Linked DNA regions of Homo sapiens: regions 2, 3, 4 and 5 are each linked to region 1. The links are contacts of gene promoters, found by promoter capture Hi-C in blood cells and fetal thymus (Javierre and others, 2016). All regions are on one chromosome and are shown on one strand. The core of a region is centred on a gene start or on the middle of the fragment in contact, and the rest is flanking DNA. Distances in the headings are between cores, read along the strand shown.

Region 1 (3,932 bases), core at 842-3,341:
ATCGGCCCTGGGATTGGTCCATCAGGAGACTCATTCCCACAGCCACGTGGCCCATAAGGCTTAGAGAACTAGTTATTGGTGTGGGGCCCAAACTAAGAGCTCATCCATGCACTTATCCAGATCGGAGTGGGGAAGGATTTGATGTCTCTGTGCTCCCCTACCTGTAGCTATTGCAGCATCTGAAGAGGATCATCTCCGACCTGTGTAAACTCTATAACCTCCCTCAGCATCCAGATGTGGAGATGCTGGATCAACCCTTGCCAGCAGAGCAGGTGAGCAGCTGAGGAGCCTCGGGCCCTGTTGTGCAGAGTTGCCCCACAGGGTACTCAGTAAATAATTGAGACAAATCAGTAGTTTCTCTCCATCCCCACCGGCTCCCAAAAACATACACGTCTTATGACTCTCACCCTCGTTCTTCTCCAGATGGGAATCTTCTTTTGCTAAATGGGGCACTGGTAGCTTCATCTCTGATATCAAAATTCATTCTCATGGGCAGCATCCCAGATGTTGAAAGGGAGCGGGGGAATTTTTACCATTATCTTAGCAATAACAGTTGGTGGCCACTGGGGACCCAGGCCCCTTGGTGAGAACCAAGAATGCAATATCAGTCTAAAGAAGATCAAGTAAAGGAGGGGTTCTTAGGAGAATTAAACTAGGATTTAGGAGGTGGGTGACAGAGACAGCCATTTTGCTTTTCTTTTATTCTTTGGCAGTGATAGGCGAAAAATAATGGGCTGGTAGCAAAGCCATTCCCTGGGCTGTTGCTTCCACTCAGATCTGGCTGGTGGAGAGACTGGCAGCATTACAGGCAGGCGCACAACTTCCAGACCTGGGGGCTCAGGGGAGTAGGTTGGAGGCTGCATTCTAGCAAGCCACTGGGGCTCTGATCTCCATCTTTCCCTTCCTTGCTGCAGTGCACACAGGAAGACGTGTCTTCAGAAGATGAAGATGAGGAGATGCCTGAGGTAGGCTTGCCCCCTGAGGTGGCATTGGCTGGAAGCTCTTGCAGTCAGCAACATTGGTACCCATATCCAGAACTCCAGTCTAAAACTGGAGAGAGAAAAATATCAAAGGAATAAAGACAGATTTACTGACCTGGAGGAATAGCCAGTGTAGTAGAGGAGACAGGGCACCCATATCCAACCACTGAAGACAGGTGCAGCGCGGTTCAAACCAAATACTGGGTAAGTTAATTTCAAATGGCTTTGGAGTCCAACAAACCTGTGTTTGCATCCTAGCTATCCTAATTGAGGAATTTTATGTAATCTCACTAAGCTACAGTTTTCTTATCTATAAAGTAGGATTATAATACCTACTGCATATGGTTGTCTTGAGATTAAATGAGGTGTTATATATAAAATGCTTCAGATGATACATGATAAATGCTAAACAATCTATCTGATATATTCTCTAAAAACATACAGAATATAAAATCATGGTTAGGAATTTGAGCTTTAGAGCTAGACAGAACTTGACTGAATCTTAGCTCTGCTAAGAGCTGTGACTTTGGGCATGATAATTGACCTCACTAGACTCAGCTTCCGCATCTATAAAATGGATAATGATAGAATAATGAGTGATGGTGGTAAGAATGAAATGAGCTAGTATCTGCGGCACCTAGGACAGAACCTGGCATGTAATAAACACTCAGTAGACATTACCTGCTGGTGTGGTAATTAGGTATGTCCTGCCAGAAATGGGGAGATCACTCTGATTACTTTTATTTCCTAGCATTAGATTAATATCCCAGGTTCTATAACCGTGTAAGGTTCTTGAGACTGGCAAAGGGCTGACGACATGAAATTTACTCCTCCCAGATAGTGGACAGCCCTCTGGGCCACACCCCCAACATCTGGCTGAGGGGCTCAACCCTACATAGGTTCTCCTCCTTCCCTATGCTCAGTGAGCTAGTTGCTTGCTCACTTAGAGCAGGATGAATAAGGGGCTAATTCTGTTCTTGACCTCTTCCATATATCTCTCTGGACATCCTTTCTCATTTCCATCTGGCAGTGCGTGCCTCTGCATACCTGATTCATGCCTTGCATTTGTAGCGAGGAGAGGAGATGTAATGATTCAGGTTTCTCCTTTAGGCTTGGGGCCCTGAGAACTCCCGGGTGCAATAGTCACCTGGTGAAACATGAGCTTTGAGTCACAGGGTCAGGCCCAAGTCATTTCTGCTAGGAATTAGGGAAGAGTTTCTGCTGCCAAGGGAGTTTTAGGAACAGTTGGAGCAGGGTCAGTCCAGGAAACAAGAGGGCTAAGTCCCTGCCTCGATCTCAGCTGCAGCTCTGCTCGTTTCCGAAGTCCTTGCTGTAGCTTGAGAGCTGAAGATTTAGACTGTGGAGGGAATGGGGCTGGAAATTGTTCTAAAAATGGAAAGCACGTTGCGTTTATAAGACTGCTAGATGGACTGCTTCACTTTAACTTTTGGCTCTTCGCCAAATGGGACTGGGAAGGTGATGGTCATTCTCTAACCTGTGTCGGTTTTTTTCCTTTTCTTTTCACTCCCACCCCACACCTCCTCCAGGACACAGAAGACTTAGATCACTATGAAATGAAAGAGGAAGAGCCAGCTGAGGGCAAGAAATCTGAAGATGATGGCATTGGAAAAGAAAACTTGGCCATCCTAGAGAAAATTAAAAAGAACCAGAGGCAAGATTACTTAAATGTACGTGCCTTCTAGAGAGAGGCTGGTGAAGGGGTTGGTGGGAAATGGCTGGGAAGTAGTAGGCCATCGCATCTCAGTATGGAGAGCAGACTCCTTTTTTGTGCCTAATCCTTTCTTAAATCCTGGGCAAGCTGCCAGACTGCCCCTAAGGTCTAACGTGTGTTTATAAACCACACGACCAAGGAATGTTCCTGTCATCCGTCCCTCACAGGGTGCAGTGTCTGGCTCGGTGCAGGCCACTGACCGGCTGATGAAGGAGCTCAGGGATATATACCGATCACAGAGTTTCAAAGGCGGTGAGTTTGCCCCAGAGAGGGGCCTGCACAAGAGTCACCCATAAAGAAGGGTATGGTGGCAAGGGGCCCAAGAGGTTCTGGGGTCCAGGAGTGCTTATGAACTTTTCAGGCCAAGAATGGAGCTCCTCAAGCCAGTGGCTTGGTTGCATGTCCATCTGTGGTGAACCTAGAGCTGTTGATCTTTTTCTCTCAGTCTGGGAAAGGGGTCTGCATTAGAGACCACTCACCACCTGGACCATTCTACTAACACCTGTTTTTTCCCTCCTTCCAGGAAACTATGCAGTCGAACTCGTGAATGACAGTCTGTATGATTGGAATGTCAAACTCCTCAAGTGAGTGGGGACTCTGGGATTGGAGAGGAAGTTGAGGAGGAGTGTGAGTGGGGCTACTGTGGTGGGATCTCCAGGGCAGCCCCATCCAGCATTTTCATTCAGGGTCCCGGAGCGGGTGTGGGCAGTGGTTTCGTGGTCTGCTGCCAGCCAGGGCAGGGGAGCCCTTATGAAGCTCCTGAGGTGGAACCAGGCATCTGAGCCCAGGCTTGTTGCTTCTTAGAGTTGACCAGGACAGCGCTTTGCACAACGATCTCCAGATCCTCAAAGAGAAAGAAGGAGCCGACTTCATTCTACTTAACTTTTCCTTTAAAGTAAGACTTTTCTTTTCCAGTCTCTCCCTCTGGCCTAGGCTGCCCAGTCTGCCTGACAGTCCTGTGGAGGATGCTGGCCTCCCTCCCCTGATTGTCGTCTCTCTCTCTCTCAGGATAACTTTCCCTTTGACCCACCATTTGTCAGGGTTGTGTCTCCAGTCCTCTCTGGAGGGTGAGTGGCTGGCATGCGGAAGAGGGCATCTCCTCTGGCAGAGGGCGGGGAAGAGACTTGGAGATTTTGTCAGGCACAGCTGACTAACCTTTCTCATGCAGGTATGTTCTGGGCGGAGGGGCCATCTGCATGGAACTTCTCACCAAACAGGTG
Region 2 (3,443 bases), core at 502-3,001, 170 kb after region 1:
AAGACCCACAGCCCTCTGCCTCCTTTCGGGGGCCAGAACACTGGCAGGCTGGCCTGTTCCCTCCTAGAAGGAGATTCTTCTCTGGGTAACCTGACTGGCCCCAGACGAAAGACCTAAAGATCCAGACATGTGGGGACTCCCCCAGCAAACAGTCCCGTCCAGATGCCCACCATGTGAGCTTCCAATCAGCGCCTTCGTTCCCATGTCAGAGCTTTCTCTTTGCTACTCCCCACCCACGCTGCCTGGCCCTCTGCACTGGGGGTATTCCAGGAAGAGACCACATGAGCAATACCCCACACCCTCTGACTAGCAGTTGGTCTAGACAACGCAGAACCCGGAAGACCAGAGGGAGGAGGAGCGTGAGATCAAGATATCTGTTCCTCTGGTTCTTCTCTTAGAGGGTTCCTCTCTTAGGCTGCCTGTGTCTCTCAACCAAAGGTTATAGCTCTCCTATACTCTGTCTTTGTAAATGGCCATTTTGTAAAGAAATCCTCCTAAAATAATCCTAACTTGAGTAAACCATATGTTTACTGTAAGGACTTAACTGATATTTGCCTGTCTTATAAATAATCAGTCAAAGATCACCAGACAGCTGAAAAAAACCTCAGACATGGAAGATAAAAACAAATGAGCAAAAAGCAGACTGAAAAGCAATTTGCAGAAATAGTTTCTACACAGGAAGAAGAAAACTTCAAAAGAAAAATATCAAATAATACTTCAGAGAGGCCAGGCACAGTTGCTCACACCTGTAATTCCAGCACTTTGGGAGGCTGAGGTAGGTGGATCACCTAAGGTCAGGAGTTTGAGACCAGCCTGGTCAACATAGTGAAGCCTCGTCTCTACTAAAAATACAAAAATTACCCAGGCATGGTGGCGCGTGCCTGTAATCCCACCTACTCAGGAGGCTGAGGCAGGAGAATCGCTTGAACCTGGGAGGTGGAGTTTGCCGTGAGCCGAGATCGTGCCATTGCACTCTAGCCTGGACAACAAGAGCGAAACTCCGTCTCAAAAAAAAAAAAAAAAACAGGAGAACAGGAGGACACATGAGTTTGGAGCTTCATACAAACGTGTGGTCAATAACAGAACAGGCCTGTATTTACCTGTGTACAAAAACGCCTGTGTGTCTGCAGCTACAGACAACCTACTATGAAACCACTAATCATTTCCTCATTGCTTTCGGATTCAGGCTTCTCCTCCAGACATGCTTAGCTGTGGTTTAGGAGCTGCTACGCTTATGGGGTCTTTCCAGTGTCTTCCTAGCGCCTTCCTTTCCTCTCCCAACCCCTACGCCCTCTGCCCTCAGGGTTCCCAGGTTAAACAATCAAGATACACACTTCCGCCTCTAGGCACCACGCCCCATCCTCTTCCTGGAGCTCCACCCACAACAAGGTACTGAAGAGGAGGAAGTAGAGAGGAAGAACACTAGATTATTGAATAAATAACCTGAGAATTGAATAAATTGGAAGTTAGCCCTATTGTTAATCTTTGAACCATGGGAAATGGTAGCATGGGAAGAATGACCCCTAAAGCCACTGAGTTGGGGTGGGGCTGGCTCTCCTCCACTTAAAACCCCTCAGGGCTCTGGCTTATTCCCAGAATAAGGCTGAAATCCCTTCACCGAGAAAAGGGTTCTCCAGAAGTCACCCTGCTTTTCTCTCCTGCCTCATCTCTTGCCACTTTCTCCTTGTTATCTGGGCTCCAGCCACAATAAACAATGTTCTTGCAGACAAGAGCATTGACTTCATGTGGGCAAGTGTGGCTCTTGTCCCGGGCCTCATGGTTAGAGGGCCCTGAATTATTCACACATGTGCACACACACATTTAACACACACTGCTCCTCTGTCATTAGGGATCGGGTGCTTTTTGCTGACTTAGAGAAACCCCATGCCTGAAACCTACTCATCTGCTCTCAGGAGAGGTAGTAATTGTCACTGCTCATTGATAAACACTCCCTGTCTTCATTGGAGCAGGCCCAGGGGTTGTTGGGTTTAACTCCATCCCAAATTCCAGAGATGAGCCAGGTTGATGTAAGCTAGTCAGGGGATCTCCCTCCACCTGTCTCTTCCCTGTACCTACAAGCATGCACAAACAGGGCACAGCACTTCCCTGGTCAAAGGGCTTGGTTCGATTGAGGATAGAGCAGTGGATGGCACAGGAGACACCCCCCTCCCTTGCTCTGAATCAGGCAGAGTGTAGATGTGAGGCCTGGGAATGATAACAGCCATTTAGTTCCCCCAAGATAAGCCAGACTTGGAACATTGCCACTTGACACCCCCATTACCCAAAGACAACTGGAGATAGCTGAGCTAAAGCTCAAGCATCGTCATTTGGAGGTTGGTTGGTTCGTTTGTTTGTTTGTTTGTTTTGAGACAGGGTCTCTGTCACCTGGGCTGGAATGCAGTGGCATGATCTCGGCTCGCTGCAACCTCTGCCTCTCGGTTTCAAGCGATTCTCCTGCCTCAGCCTCCCCAGTAGCTGGGATTACAGGCGTGCACCACCATGCCCAGCTAATTTTTGTATTTTTAGTAGAGATGGAGTTTCACCATGTTGCCCAGGCTGGTCTTGAACTCCTGACCTCAAGTGATCTGCCTACCTCGGCCTCCAAAAGTGCTGGAATTACAGGCATGAGCCACAGTGCCACTGCACTCCAGTCTGGGCGATAGAGGGAGACTTTGTCTTAAAAAAGGGCCAGGTGCAGTGGCTCACTTCTGTAATCCCAGCACTTTGGGAGGCCGAGGCGGGCAGATCATCTGAGGTCAGGAGTTCGAGACCAACCTGGCCAACATTGTGAAACCCCATCTCTACTAAAAATACAAAAATTATCCAGGTGTAGTAGCTCACGCCTGTATTCCTAGCAACTCGGGAGGCTGAGTCATGAGAATCGCTTGAACCTGGGAGGCAGAGAATGCAGTGAGCCGAGATCACGCCATTGTACTCCAGCCTGGATGACAGAGCAAGACTCTGTCTCCAAAAAAAAAAAAAAAAAGAAAGAAAAAGGAAAAGAAAACCATTGCCCTCAGGTCACATCTGGCCTACTACCTATTTTTGTACAGCATGTGATGGTAAATTTCATGAACATAAAAGACACACGGGCACACGTTACAAAATAGTACATACTACATGATTCCATTTATATAAGGTGCAAAAATGATCTATAGTGTTGGGGATCAGGATACAGGCTACCTTTGGGGAGATGGGGAATAGTGTCTGAGACAGGACACAAAGGGATGTTTGTTTGTTTGTTTGTTTGTTTTTGAGATGGAGTCTTGCTCTGTAACCCAGGCTGGAGTGCAGTGGTGCCATCTTGACTCACTGCAATCTCCATCTCCCAAATTCAAGCGATTCTACTGCCTCAGACTCCCGAGTAGCTGGGATTACAAGCGTGCACCACCACGCCTGACTAATTTTTGTATTTTAGTAGAGACGGGGTTTCACCATGTTTA
Region 3 (3,913 bases), core at 1,380-3,879, 200 kb before region 1:
CTGTCTGTCTTCCTAATTTCAGTGAGTCAGTTTTTCCTCCCCATCTGTTTGCTTTCTGGCACTTTACACAACTGTCTGGGCTCTTTCATTTTGCCTTCTGTGGTTGCTCAACTCCATCATTTCCCTCTCGATGCTTCTCCTTTGTTCCCTGGCAGGCTCCTCTCATCTGCCAGTTTCCAGTCCTATGAAGAGTCAGAGGTGGGTTTTAGTTTTCAGGCAGCATTTTTGTTGCCTGGCAACGTGTAACAAGCATCTTCTGTGGTGGCTGCTTCCCTTAAAACAGAGCCAGGCTGGGGATGCAGTGGACGAAGGAGTCTCTGGGAGCTTCTCTGGGGTCATGGGGAGGAGTCAGGGGAGGGGGACAGACAGACAGGTTGGCTTCCATGGTGACTCTGAGTGTTGCCATTCTTACTCTTTTATAATAGCCTTGGCACTGGCACGCCCTCTCCTGCCCCATTTCAGGCACCCCAGGTGTCCAGTGGTGAAAAGCCTTGGGTTAGGAGCCATCAGAAGTTCTGTGTAACTTGAGAGGCACCTGCTGCAGCTCCCTGAGGCATGGCCAGCCTGGATGAAGGCTGCTAGGTGGTTTCCACTGGTGCTGACTCTTGCTTCATCTTGTCTGCACGGGATGCCACAGGCCTCCTGTCTGGAAAGACACCTGGCTTTTGCCTCTGCAGTCAGCCCAGCTGCTAGTTGTCCCGAGAATGGGAGTGGGAGAGAGAAGGGGGACAGAATGTGATCCAAAAAAACACCTGACTTAGAGCTGGAGGGGGCTTTAGAGCTTCTTTAGCCAAATCCTCATATTGTACACACGAGGAAACCAAAGCCCAAAGAAGGGAAGCAACTTGTCCAGACTCACACCGCGAGTTGGGCGGGTCTGAGCTCCCAGCCAAGGGTCTCTCTCCTGGGACTGGACTCTGCCGAGCTCACACATCTGATGCCCTGTGGCTAGAAAGAGGCAGCATGTGGTGAGAAGTGCACCAGATGCCCAGTTCTCCGCTTTCTGGCCTCCATTTGCTTATCTAAAAAGAATGAGGTGAACTGGGCTAGAGGGAGCCCCAAGACTCAGTGACTCTGATGGTAAAGCTGACACAGCAGGCAGGCCCCTGCTGCCCAGGCCTTCAGCCACGTGTCCAGGGCTGCTCTCACCGCCCCAGGAAAGCTCAGAAGCTGAGGGGGTCCTGGGCCTCTGAGCTGATGCTCCCCAGGAGAATCCCACTGTATGCAGAGACCCCGAGCACAGCCACGACACTTGTCACCATGAGGCTGATTTAGGGCAAGCCTCCTGGGCATCTGTGTCTTCAAAGATGGTCTCTTAAGACCCTTATCAAGGATCAGGGCTGCAGCTGCCCACTCCCCTACCTAACCAGCTCTCCATCTAGTGTGGGAAACGGGTAAGAAAACATTCTCTGAGAATTACAGCTCCTTAGAGCTGGAAGGGGCCCTAATGCACATGGACCCAGCCCCCCACCCTTCCCAGATGAAGAGAGGGAGGCCCAGAGCTGTGAGAGTTGATGCGAAGGGGGTTTTGCTCTATTCCCTTCAGACCCCACAGGTGAGAAGGCATCTCCAGATGGGTCATCTCTTTATCCTGCTCCTTCCTTTCCTTAAGTAAGAATCTCTCAGTTCAAGAGGCAGAGAAAAGGATTGCTGAAGGCAATCTGTCTCTTCATATCTCTTTCATTCTGCTCCTGGGGCCGAGGAAATGGGTGAGGAGGGGTGCAGGAGGCCCTTGGCCTGAGCACCAGGCCTGGAGCCTTCCCTTCCAGCCGCTGCTCTCCAGAGCTTGGGGTGCACCAGCTTCGAGGCTTTAGAAGCTTCTCCAGCAAGAAAGGCCCTTCTGAGGGAAAAGTGTGTGCGACTGGCTGTCTCCATTCCTTTCTCCATATAGTGTTGACCTTCGGAATTAGCTTTATTCCTGACGTGTACCAGAATTTTCAGTTAATCATGTAAACCAAGGCTCAGGTGACTTGGCTGTGGGCAGTTGGGGCCGGACCAGCCCCTGAGAAACTACTCCCATCCCAGACTTCGTGACGCTTCACTTGGCCAGAGCCCACTCCCAGAAAGCAGGGAAATGTGCCTTTCTGCGTAGCCCAGGCCTATGGAAAGAGGCGAGAGGTCAGGGACAGCTGCACTCCCTGGGCAGGCTGCTTGTGGTCCGGGAGCATCCCGTAGTCTCCCCAAGCCCCACGGCCGTGGGGACCCCGGGTCAGGGCATTATTGTGCATATCCCTGTCCTCAGGCCCCTCATGCTCAGGCCAGACCCTCACCCAGGTGCCCTTGCCCTCAGACTCCTCCCCTTCCAGCCATTGTCTCTGTCTCCATCCCTGTCCCTCTCTTTCTCTATCTTCCTCTCTCTCTGATTCCCTGGGGGCTACTTTGCAACCTCTGCTGAGTCAGAATTCTTCCCACTCGCCCTGACGTCCCAGGCTCCTCCTTGGCACCCTGTCTTCTCTGTGGCAGGGAAAGACGCCCAACCAGAGCTCCCACGTCCTGCCCTGGGAACCCCACTGCTCTGGGAAACAAAAACAAGAAAATTCCTTCCCAGGGTACTTGTTCTGTGCTGTTCCTCTTTGTTCTTGGTCACAGGGTGATTCCCACGTCCTTCCCACACTAACCCTGCCTAGGTGAGGCTGCAGCTTTGTGTGCCTTCCACAACATTTGCTTGCCTGGGGAGCTGCCTGCCTTTAATTATCTTTGGAAAGCATAACTGAGAAGAGCAAGACACCCGTCTTTTCTTTAGGGCTCTTGCCAGGAGCACTGCCTATGCAGCACTTCCCTCCAGGGGGTGCCATTCACATTGAAGTCTTCGTGACTGGCACTCCTTGGAGTTGCACAGTGCGCAACCTATGCTGCTGAACAGGGCAGCCCTGGCTCTGTCTTACTCTCCTGGGAAGCATGGCTCATTATAACACAGATCCAGGATGAGATACCTGAGAGAGAGAGAATCCCCACCAGTCTCTCCACTCATCTCACCTCCCTTTTTAGGTCTCCACCTCCTCCAAGGTGTAATATGGTCAAAGACAGGGCTCCTCCAAGGTGCAATATGGTCAAAGACAGGGCTGTGGATGCAGGCAAGTCCAAGCACACACTCGGGCCCTGCCACTCAATTGATGTTTTATTTTGTGCAAGTTTCCTAATCTAGTAATTAATCAAGTGATCCTCCCACCTCAGCCTCCAGAATAGCTGGGACTATAGACACGTACCACCATGCCCTGCTAATTTTATTCATTTTTTGTAGAGACAGCATCTCACTATGTTGCCCAGTCTGGTCTTGAAATCCTGGGCTCAAGGGATCCTTCTGTCTCAGCCTCCCAAAGTGCTTGGATTACAGGCATGAGCCACTGCACCTGGTCTAATTTTCCAATTCAGTAAAATAGGAAGTGACAGTTATGAGTCTTGTTTTTTGAGGATTAAATTCAGTAATGCGCATAAAGCTTTGGCCCACATGGCACGTGATTGGCACTTGAGAAATGATAGTGATTATTGTTATCTCTTCAAATAAGATTAGCATCCAGTCTTACCTACCACACAGAGATAGCCCCAGAAATAAAATGAAATGAGAAGTAGATCATCTCTAAGATCTTTGAGGAAGTATTTTGCAAGAATCCCAACTACTGTTGTTCTTCTCTCTGTATATAAAAAACGATGAACTGTGAAGCCCCTTTGCTTCCAAGTCACGCTCTGTGACTGATGGCAGATGTCGGGAAAGGCTCAACCAGGAGAGAGAAAGCTTGCAGGCGCGGGCGGCAGACTGAGGGCCCCGGGCGGGTGGAGCTCAATGAAAACCACAGACAGACAGCAGCTGTGAGAGCAAGCAGAGACCCAGAATGGCTTTAAACAGAAAGCAGAGGCCCACAGCAGGGAGTGAGATGAGACCAGGTTTAAACGTCACTTTCCCCTAAGTCCTTGT
Region 4 (3,808 bases), core at 762-3,261, 230 kb after region 1:
GGTGGCTCCCGAAGCACAGAAAGCAGACAGCAACTGCACCAAGATGTAAATGGGGAGCTTGACCCAGGGGAGGCGTCCAACGATGCACATGGCCAGGGAGAAGGCTGGATTCAGGTGGGCCCCTTCAAGTATCAAGGAAAGAAAAAGAGCATCTATTAAGTGTCACTGCCAGGCATTGTCACCAGACAACACTACTGCTCCTTCCTATAGCTCTTAAGGCAGATAGTGTAATTCTCATCACACAGCTTAGGAAATTGAGGCTCCAGATGTTACAGATGTTAAGTGACTTAGCAAAGTCACACTGTGGGCCAGGCACAGTGGCTCACGCCTGTAATCCCAGCACTTTGGGAGGCCGAGGCAGTGGATCACTTGAGGTCAGGAATTCCAGACCAGCCTGGCCAACATGGTGAAACCCCGTTTCCACTAAAAACACAAATATTAGCCAGGCGTGGTAGCAGGTGCCTGTAAAATCAGCTATTCGGGATGCTGAGGCAGGAGAATCGCGTGAACCCAGGGGCAGAGGTTGCAGTGAACAGACATCACACCACTGCTCTCCAGCCTGGGCAACAGAGTGAAACTCCATCTCAAAAAAAAAGAAAAAAAAAAAAAAAAAAGAAGAAGACACTGTGAATCCAAAGTTGGAACCTAGGTCTGTCTGCTTTTTCCACAGCAACACACTATGTCTCAAGGCTCCACCCAAGCACACCGATGCAGTGTGTATCTGGGGTACAAACAGGAGAGGTCCTGAGTGGAGATGAGCCCCCAGAGGACTTCAGGTGGGGGATACAAGAGGATAGCAGCTGCCCTTCGTGCCCTGCCATTGATTTCTGTCTAGGTGAGCCAAGCATTAGTGTGAGGAAGCAGGATGGAGAGATACAGAAAGAGGAGGGGCTGGTGGGGCCAAAGGCTTATTTCAGTCTGGGACACTGTTCAAGGGGATAATGTCCACGAGTCACAGAAGGATTTGCGTTTCCACCATCACCAGACAGACAAACTGGCATGCACATCCCACGTGCTCTGATGACCAGACCCCACCCTCCTCACCTGAGACGTTACCACCCACGTAGATGGCTATCGTAACGGCCAGAGAGCCAGCCAGAAACATGGTGAAGAAGTTGCCTTTGGTTTCTCCACTGGTGACAGCCTGGGCCACAGCTCCTTGGGTGAGGAGCTGCTGAGAAGAGGAGAGATGAGGAACAGGGAGCCCAGGAGACCAACAGGGAGAAAGGTTGGGAAGGCCAGGGGAGCAGCCAAGGAGATGAATGAGCACAGAAGACAAGCAAGGGAAGGAGAAAAGCAGAAGGAGGGAAGGGAAAAGAAATGGGGAAAGTGGAGGAAGAAGAAAGGGAAAGAATGTGGGAAAAAAGAAAAGAATTTACCCAACTCATAGGCATTTGAGGGTACAAACCCATGGCAGGGCTCAGCTTTAAAAAGTCTTATCTAAGATTCTTTCTATGGAAGAGTTCCATCAAAGCCAATTTTAAAAGCCTATGTGAAAAATAATTATTCTTGCTGCACTTTATACAATCATCAGGCCAAGTATAATAAAGCACATTGGTCTTACCATGAAAATGGTCTTTCATAAAAATGGGAAACTGAAGAGAGAAAAATTATGTTTCAAGAACTATGATACACTTGTTATTAAAGAAAGAATAAAAATGACAAGAATAAAAATGATGAAGTAGGAGAGGAAAGGAGATTAGGAGAGACGAGAGGATAAAAACGAAAAGTGATAGGGAGTTGAGAGGAAGGGGGACACCAAGAGAAAGAGATAAGGACAACAGAAGGAGCCAGGAACTTTTGCCCAACCCCCTTCTTTCCTTCCCGCAGTGATCCTACCTACCATGAGTACAAACACACCCAGAAACTCTGCCAGGCACTGCCGGGCCAGGAGGCTGCGTATCCGGAGGTGGCCCATGATTTCAGCCGGGGCCTGAGTGAAGACCATGGTGGAAACACCCTATTGCTATTCACTGCTCCCTCTGTCTGCATAGGCACACTGTCACTGCACAGCTACTGCCTGCCTCCAGCAAAGATAAGGAACAGACTTTAAAACCATTAGCTCAGTTCCTGAACAGCAGCTACGTGTCTGTGCACGTGTGTAGGCTAGGAAACAGAGAGATAACAAGAGAATGTCTGGGAGCAGGCTATGAACACAGAGCCTGGAGTTTACCCAACCTCTGTCTCTTTTACCCTTCATTCCCAGTCATCACAGGACTAGCCTCCCCCATCCTGACAAATAGAAGGAAGTACCCCGCTTCATAGACATTAGATCTCTTGGTCCTGAAGTCAGCTCTGCAAAGTAGTACTATTGCTTCCATTCTACAGATGAGGCTAGTGGGCCTTAGAACTCCCCAAGATCAAACTTTTTTTTTTTTTTTTTCTGAGAGAGAGTCTTGCTCTGTCCCCCAGGCTGGAGTGCAGTGGCACCATCTCAGCTTACTGCAACCTCCACCTCCCAGGTTCAAGCAATTCTCCTGCCTCAGCCTCCCAAGTAGATGGGACTACAGGTCCATCACACCTGGCTAATTTTGATATTTTTTAGTAAAGACTTGGTTTCTCGGGAGGCCGAGGCAGGCAGATCACGAGGTCAGGAGATCAAGACTATCCTGGCCAACATGGTGAAACTCCATCTCTACTAAAATACAAAAAAATTAGCGTGGTGGTGCACGCCTGTAGTCCCAGCTACTCGGGAGGCTGAGGCAGGGGAATCACTTGAACCAGGGAGGCGGAGGTTGCAGTGAGCCGAGATTGTGCCACTGCACTCCAGCCTGGCAACAGAGCGAGACTTTGTCTCAAAAAAAAAAAAAAAAAAAAAGACGGGGTTTCACCATGTTGGCCAGGCTGGTCTCAAACTCCTGACCTCTAGTGATTCACCTTCCTTGGCCTCCCAAAGTGCTGGGATTACAAGCGTGAGCCACCGTGCCCGGCCCAAGATCACACAATTATTTCATGGCTGAGTGAATTCAAATCCAGATTTTCTGACTCTCCAGCTGGTAACCCACAAAGCCTCTCATTTAGAACCTGAAGCCTTACCCCAAACCATTTGGATGCTTGAAGAACTCAATAGGCATCTGGAAAGACTGGGCTAAAGACCACAGACTGTGGGAATGAAACTCACATATTGAGTGCTTGTACTTCCCTTATGCCGAGTGTCACATAGGTTAGAGAATACTCCATCTTTGTGTCCCCTGACATGGCTTGACATGAGGCCTTCACACTCATGCTGAGCTCCACCTGGCCTTCTCTGGGTGCATGCCACTCTTGCTCTGCATGAAGTAACCGCATCCTACTTCTTCATATCTCAAGGCTCCAATTAAATGCATTCAAAGAATCTACGTCTAGACACTGGAGAAACAGTGGTGAACAAAACATAGTCTCTGCCCTCCTAGAGCTTATGTTCTAGTAGGTGGAAACAGACAATATGCAACTTTTTAAAATACCATATACAGTTTATGAAGTTCTTGAGGGCTACCATTATGATTTATGTAACCCTGTGGGCTCTACCACTGTCCTGGGCACATCTGTGTGACTAGTAAAGAAATAATATTTCTTTACTAGGTTTAATGGATACTATAGTGCTCCACCCAGATTCCCCCTTGGGAGCCAATATGCCCATTCGCTACATGTAGGAAATACCAGCTGCTGATACCACATAGCTACCTCCCTCATTGGGCAATGCCCTTCAAGTCAGAAAGATGCCTCACCGAAGGTTACATGCCCTCCTATGGGGCCCATGTCAAACACTGATTGATGGAGGGATATAAAAGTCTAGCCTCTTTGCCTCACTTTGCGACAACTCTAAAGG
Region 5 (3,406 bases), core at 896-3,395, 140 kb after region 1:
ATCGCGCCACTGCACTCCAGCCTGGGCGACAGAGCAAGACTCCATCTCAAAAAAAAAAAAAAAAAAGGCTCTTAGGATCAATAACATTTATCAAGCATGCATTTTTGTCTGTTACAGTATTTTATACTTTTGTTGTTGTTGTTGTTGAGACAGGGTCTTGCTTTGTCACCCAGGTTGGAGTGCAGTGTTGCTGTCACGGTTCACTGCAGCCTCGAACTCCTGGGCTCAAGTGATCCTCCTGCCTTGGCCTCCTAAAGCACTGGGATGACAGACATGATACACCACATCCGGCCTCAAAAAGTATTTTATACTTTAAAGCTTGTAGTGACTTGCCCAAAGGTCCCCTAGCTGGTGAAGCAGTTAATGGGGAGACAGGCCTGGACTGCCTGCCCTCAAAGCTGTTTTCTCTCTGCTACCTCAGCGGCCTCTCTCAGAGACAGAGGAAATTCATTTATAGTGATGTGGATTGCAAAACATTCCACTGACCAAAGGCATATGAATAGATGTGGGGGACCTCAGCCACTCTCAGGGCTTGAAATAATATCTGCCAGCACACGACTCCCACATTTACATCTCAAGCTCAGTCCTCATTCCCAAATTCCTGACTCCCATATCCAACTCCTTATCAGCATCTTCTCTTGATTGTCTCGTTGCGGCCAGGCGCGGTGGCTCATGCCTGCAATCCTATAGCACTTTGGGAGGCCGAGGCAGGCAGATCACTTGAGGTCAGGAGTTCGAGACCAGACTGGCAACCTGGTGAAACCCCATCTCTACTAAAAATACAAAAATTAGCCAGGTGTGGTGGTGTGCACCCGTAATGCCAGCTACTCTGGAGGCAGAGGCAGGAGAATCGCTTGAACCCGGGAGGCAGAGGTTGCAGTGAGCCAAGATTGCACCACTGCACTCCAGCCTGGGAGACAGAGACTCTGTCTCAAAACAAAAACGAAAACAAAAGACATTTGTTTCCATATGTGCAAAACTGGCCTCTCATCTTGTCCTACAGCCCACCATCTATGCAATGGGGCCAGCACTTCTCTCACCTGAGGCTGTTTTGAAGATTACATGAGATCACAGATGCCAAGGGCCTAGCACAGCTACTTGCACACAGTTGACACACCATAAATGGTAACAGTTATTGTAACCATCATATAGAGAGGGAAGACCAAAGGATGCTTTTCGGGAAAGCGGTTGGGAAGTGGAGTGGGAACTGATTCAGAGAACAGGTGCTGGGGAGAATAGGCTGGATGCAGGGCCTCAGGGACATACTCCTAAGAGTAGAAAGCACCCGACAGAGCTGGCAAGGGATGAGCAGGAGTGGGGGAGGCTGCTGAGGTCCAGCTAACGTCAAGCCTGAACCCAGTGGCAGAAAAGCCTCTGCCTTTGCCAGGGACTTTTGACCTCTTCAGATCCCAGGCAAGAGGAGAGGGTAAAGAACACAGATTAACTACACAAAAAAACCTCCCAGCTGGACACAAAGGCTCACGCCTGTAATCCCAGCACTTTGGGAGGCCAAGGCGGGTGAACTGCTTGAGCCTAGGTGTTCCAGAGCAGCCTGCAACATGGCGAAATCCTGTCTCTACAAGAAATACAAAAAATTAGCCAGATGTGGTGGTGCACGCCTGTAGTCCCAGCTATTCCGGAAGCTGAGGTGGGAGGATCACCTGAGACCAGGAAGTCGAGGCTGCAGTGAGCAGTGATTGTGCCACTGCACTCCAACCTGGGCTACGGGAGTAAGATCCTGTATTTAAAAAAAAAAAAAAGGCCTTTTCTTTGTCACCTTCCCCTTGCCACTCCAGCCCTCAAGGATCCCACCTGCAGACTTGCAGTTATGACCTGGCATTTAGCACTTCCCTCTGCTAGACTTCAAGGAGCTAAAGGGCTGAGGACTTGTTACCCCAGAGATACTTCTCCAGGGCAGGGAGCATCCATGTGTCCCCACAGAGCCCTCTGCTCCAGAACATAACACACCCTCAGGTAGTACACATTGTTAAAGAGGAGGCAAGAATTTTCCTGCCCAAGATGGACATATAGGGAATCTCTAGAGATTTGTATATTTTCTTCAGGTCTTCACTCAAATATTATGTTCTCAGCAAGGCATTCCCTGGCCTCCCATCCAAGGCACCATGCCACCCCACCCTGCCACAAACACACATGGGGTCTGTCTCCCTCTCGGCTTTAGTTTTTCTCCTTAGCACTAGTCGCTAGCATACCACATACTTAATTTACATCCTGTTAATAGTCTCCCACACTAGAATGAAACTCAACTAAGCCTGGGGTTTTTGTCTCTTTTATTCATGGTGTATCTCCAGCTCTTAGAATAGTGCCTGGAACAGAGTAGGAGGTGTTCACTCCAAAAATATATTTTTGGAGTGAATGAATGATCACCTACACTTATTTAAGCACTTGCTGTGTGTTAGGGACTTCTGTAAACACTCTATTTAATACCTTACTTAGCTCATCTCATCTTCATAACCACCCTTCGAGGTAATACAATTATTTCTATTTTCTAGAACACTGGCTGTCAAAGAAGTTAAATCACTTGCCCAAGGTGTTATCATTTTTACTTGGCAGTGCAGGGCAGAGATGTGCCTGGCTTGAAGACCTTAGCCATCACCTATGCAAAATGAGCTGTGTTCAGGTGGAGGAGAGCAGAAGGCAGAGGGGGATAAAGGAAAAGAGAACAGAAAACCTCTGGAAGAAACTGGTTAACACTCTAGCCCAGCACCGTCCAGTAGGGCTTTCCACGATGATGGAAGAGATCTGTATCTGCACTGTTCAGTACAGTAGCCACTAGCAATGTGAGTGTTGAGCACTTAAAATGTGACTAGTGCAACTAAGAAACTAAGTTTTTATTTGATTTCATTTAAATTAATTTTTTGGAGACAGGGTCTCCTGTCGCCCAGACTGGAATTCGGTAGTGCAAACATGGCTCCATGCAGACTGGACTCAAGTGATTCTCCCACCTCAGCCTTCTCAGTAGCAGGGACTACAGGCTCATGTCACTGTGCCCAGCTAATTTTTTAAATCTTTTTGTAGAGACGGCATCTCACCCTGTTGCCCAGGCTGGTCTCCAACTCCTGAGCTCAAGAGATCCTCCTGCCTCAGCCTCCCAAAGTACTGGGATTACAGGCGTGAGTCACTGCGCTGGCATAATTTAAATTTAAATAGGTACACGTGGCTAGTGGCTACCGTATTACAGAGCACAGCTTCAATCCAGACTAGATTCATTGACTGGAAACTCTTTTGCTTGCTGGGTCTGTGGCTTCCAGGCCTGGTGGGACCAGGATTCAGGAGACGGGGGAAGGGAGTGTATATTTTCAGCAGTCAGCACCTAGGTTACTTTGTGTAATCTACAAATACCCAGTGAGGGGAGTATTTGTTTACCCTGGCTGCTGAGGGCTGGAGA

Evidence for each region. The method cuts DNA at HindIII sites, captures the fragments that hold promoters and counts their contacts. A CHiCAGO score of 5 or more calls a contact.
Region 2: a fragment that was not itself captured here is called in contact with the fragment with the promoter of UBE2Q1-AS1 in region 1 in 2 of 17 cell types (endothelial precursors and megakaryocytes); the score reaches 7.9 in endothelial precursors.
Region 3: a fragment that was not itself captured here is called in contact with the fragment with the promoter of UBE2Q1-AS1 in region 1 in 2 of 17 cell types (megakaryocytes and erythroblasts); the score reaches 7.8 in megakaryocytes.
Region 4: a contact is called between the fragment with the promoter of AQP10 here and the fragment with the promoter of UBE2Q1-AS1 in region 1, in 11 of 17 cell types (M0 macrophages, non-activated CD4 T cells, endothelial precursors and 8 more). The highest score is 10.1, in M0 macrophages.
Region 5: a fragment that was not itself captured here is called in contact with the fragment with the promoter of UBE2Q1-AS1 in region 1 in 6 of 17 cell types (endothelial precursors, megakaryocytes, M2 macrophages and 3 more); the score reaches 15.7 in endothelial precursors.

The regions. Positions count from the first base shown.
Region 1 is chr1:154,551,768-154,555,699 of GRCh38, reverse strand. UBE2Q1-AS1 (UBE2Q1 antisense RNA 1) reads right to left here and starts at 2,091. Exons shown (of 2, transcript NR_046668.1): 1 at 2,028-2,091; 2 at 672-1,050. UBE2Q1 (ubiquitin conjugating enzyme E2 Q1) reads left to right here. Exons shown (of 13, transcript NM_017582.7): 3 at 168-272; 4 at 915-965; 5 at 2,528-2,668; 6 at 2,880-2,964; 7 at 3,236-3,296; 8 at 3,517-3,607; 9 at 3,721-3,779; 10 at 3,881-3,929. The HindIII fragment of the contact is 6,880 bases long and covers 1-3,932 here.
Region 2 is chr1:154,383,631-154,387,073 of GRCh38, reverse strand. No RefSeq gene overlaps it. Among named protein-coding and RNA genes, the nearest start is that of IL6R, 20 kb to the left of the region's middle. RefSeq lists an enhancer at 121-330. The HindIII fragment of the contact is 3,747 bases long and covers 1-3,443 here.
Region 3 is chr1:154,748,122-154,752,034 of GRCh38, reverse strand. The region is part of intron 3 of KCNN3 (potassium calcium-activated channel subfamily N member 3); the gene reads left to right. Among named protein-coding and RNA genes, the nearest start is that of KCNN3, 120 kb to the left of the region's middle. RefSeq lists enhancers at 2,134-2,637, 3,533-3,742 and a silencer at 2,835-2,884. The HindIII fragment of the contact is 1,620 bases long and covers 1,820-3,439 here.
Region 4 is chr1:154,319,296-154,323,103 of GRCh38, reverse strand. It overlaps AQP10 (aquaporin 10), which reads right to left and starts at 2,011. Exons shown (of 6, transcript NM_080429.3): 1 at 1,844-2,011; 2 at 1,045-1,171; 3 at 1-122. The coding sequence starts at 1,948. RefSeq lists a silencer at 2,041-2,232. The HindIII fragment of the contact is 12,155 bases long and covers 1-3,808 here.
Region 5 is chr1:154,408,608-154,412,013 of GRCh38, reverse strand. All of the region lies in intron 1 of IL6R (interleukin 6 receptor), which reads right to left. Among named protein-coding and RNA genes, the nearest start is that of IL6R-AS1, 3.7 kb to the right of the region's middle. The HindIII fragment of the contact is 3,649 bases long and covers 321-3,406 here.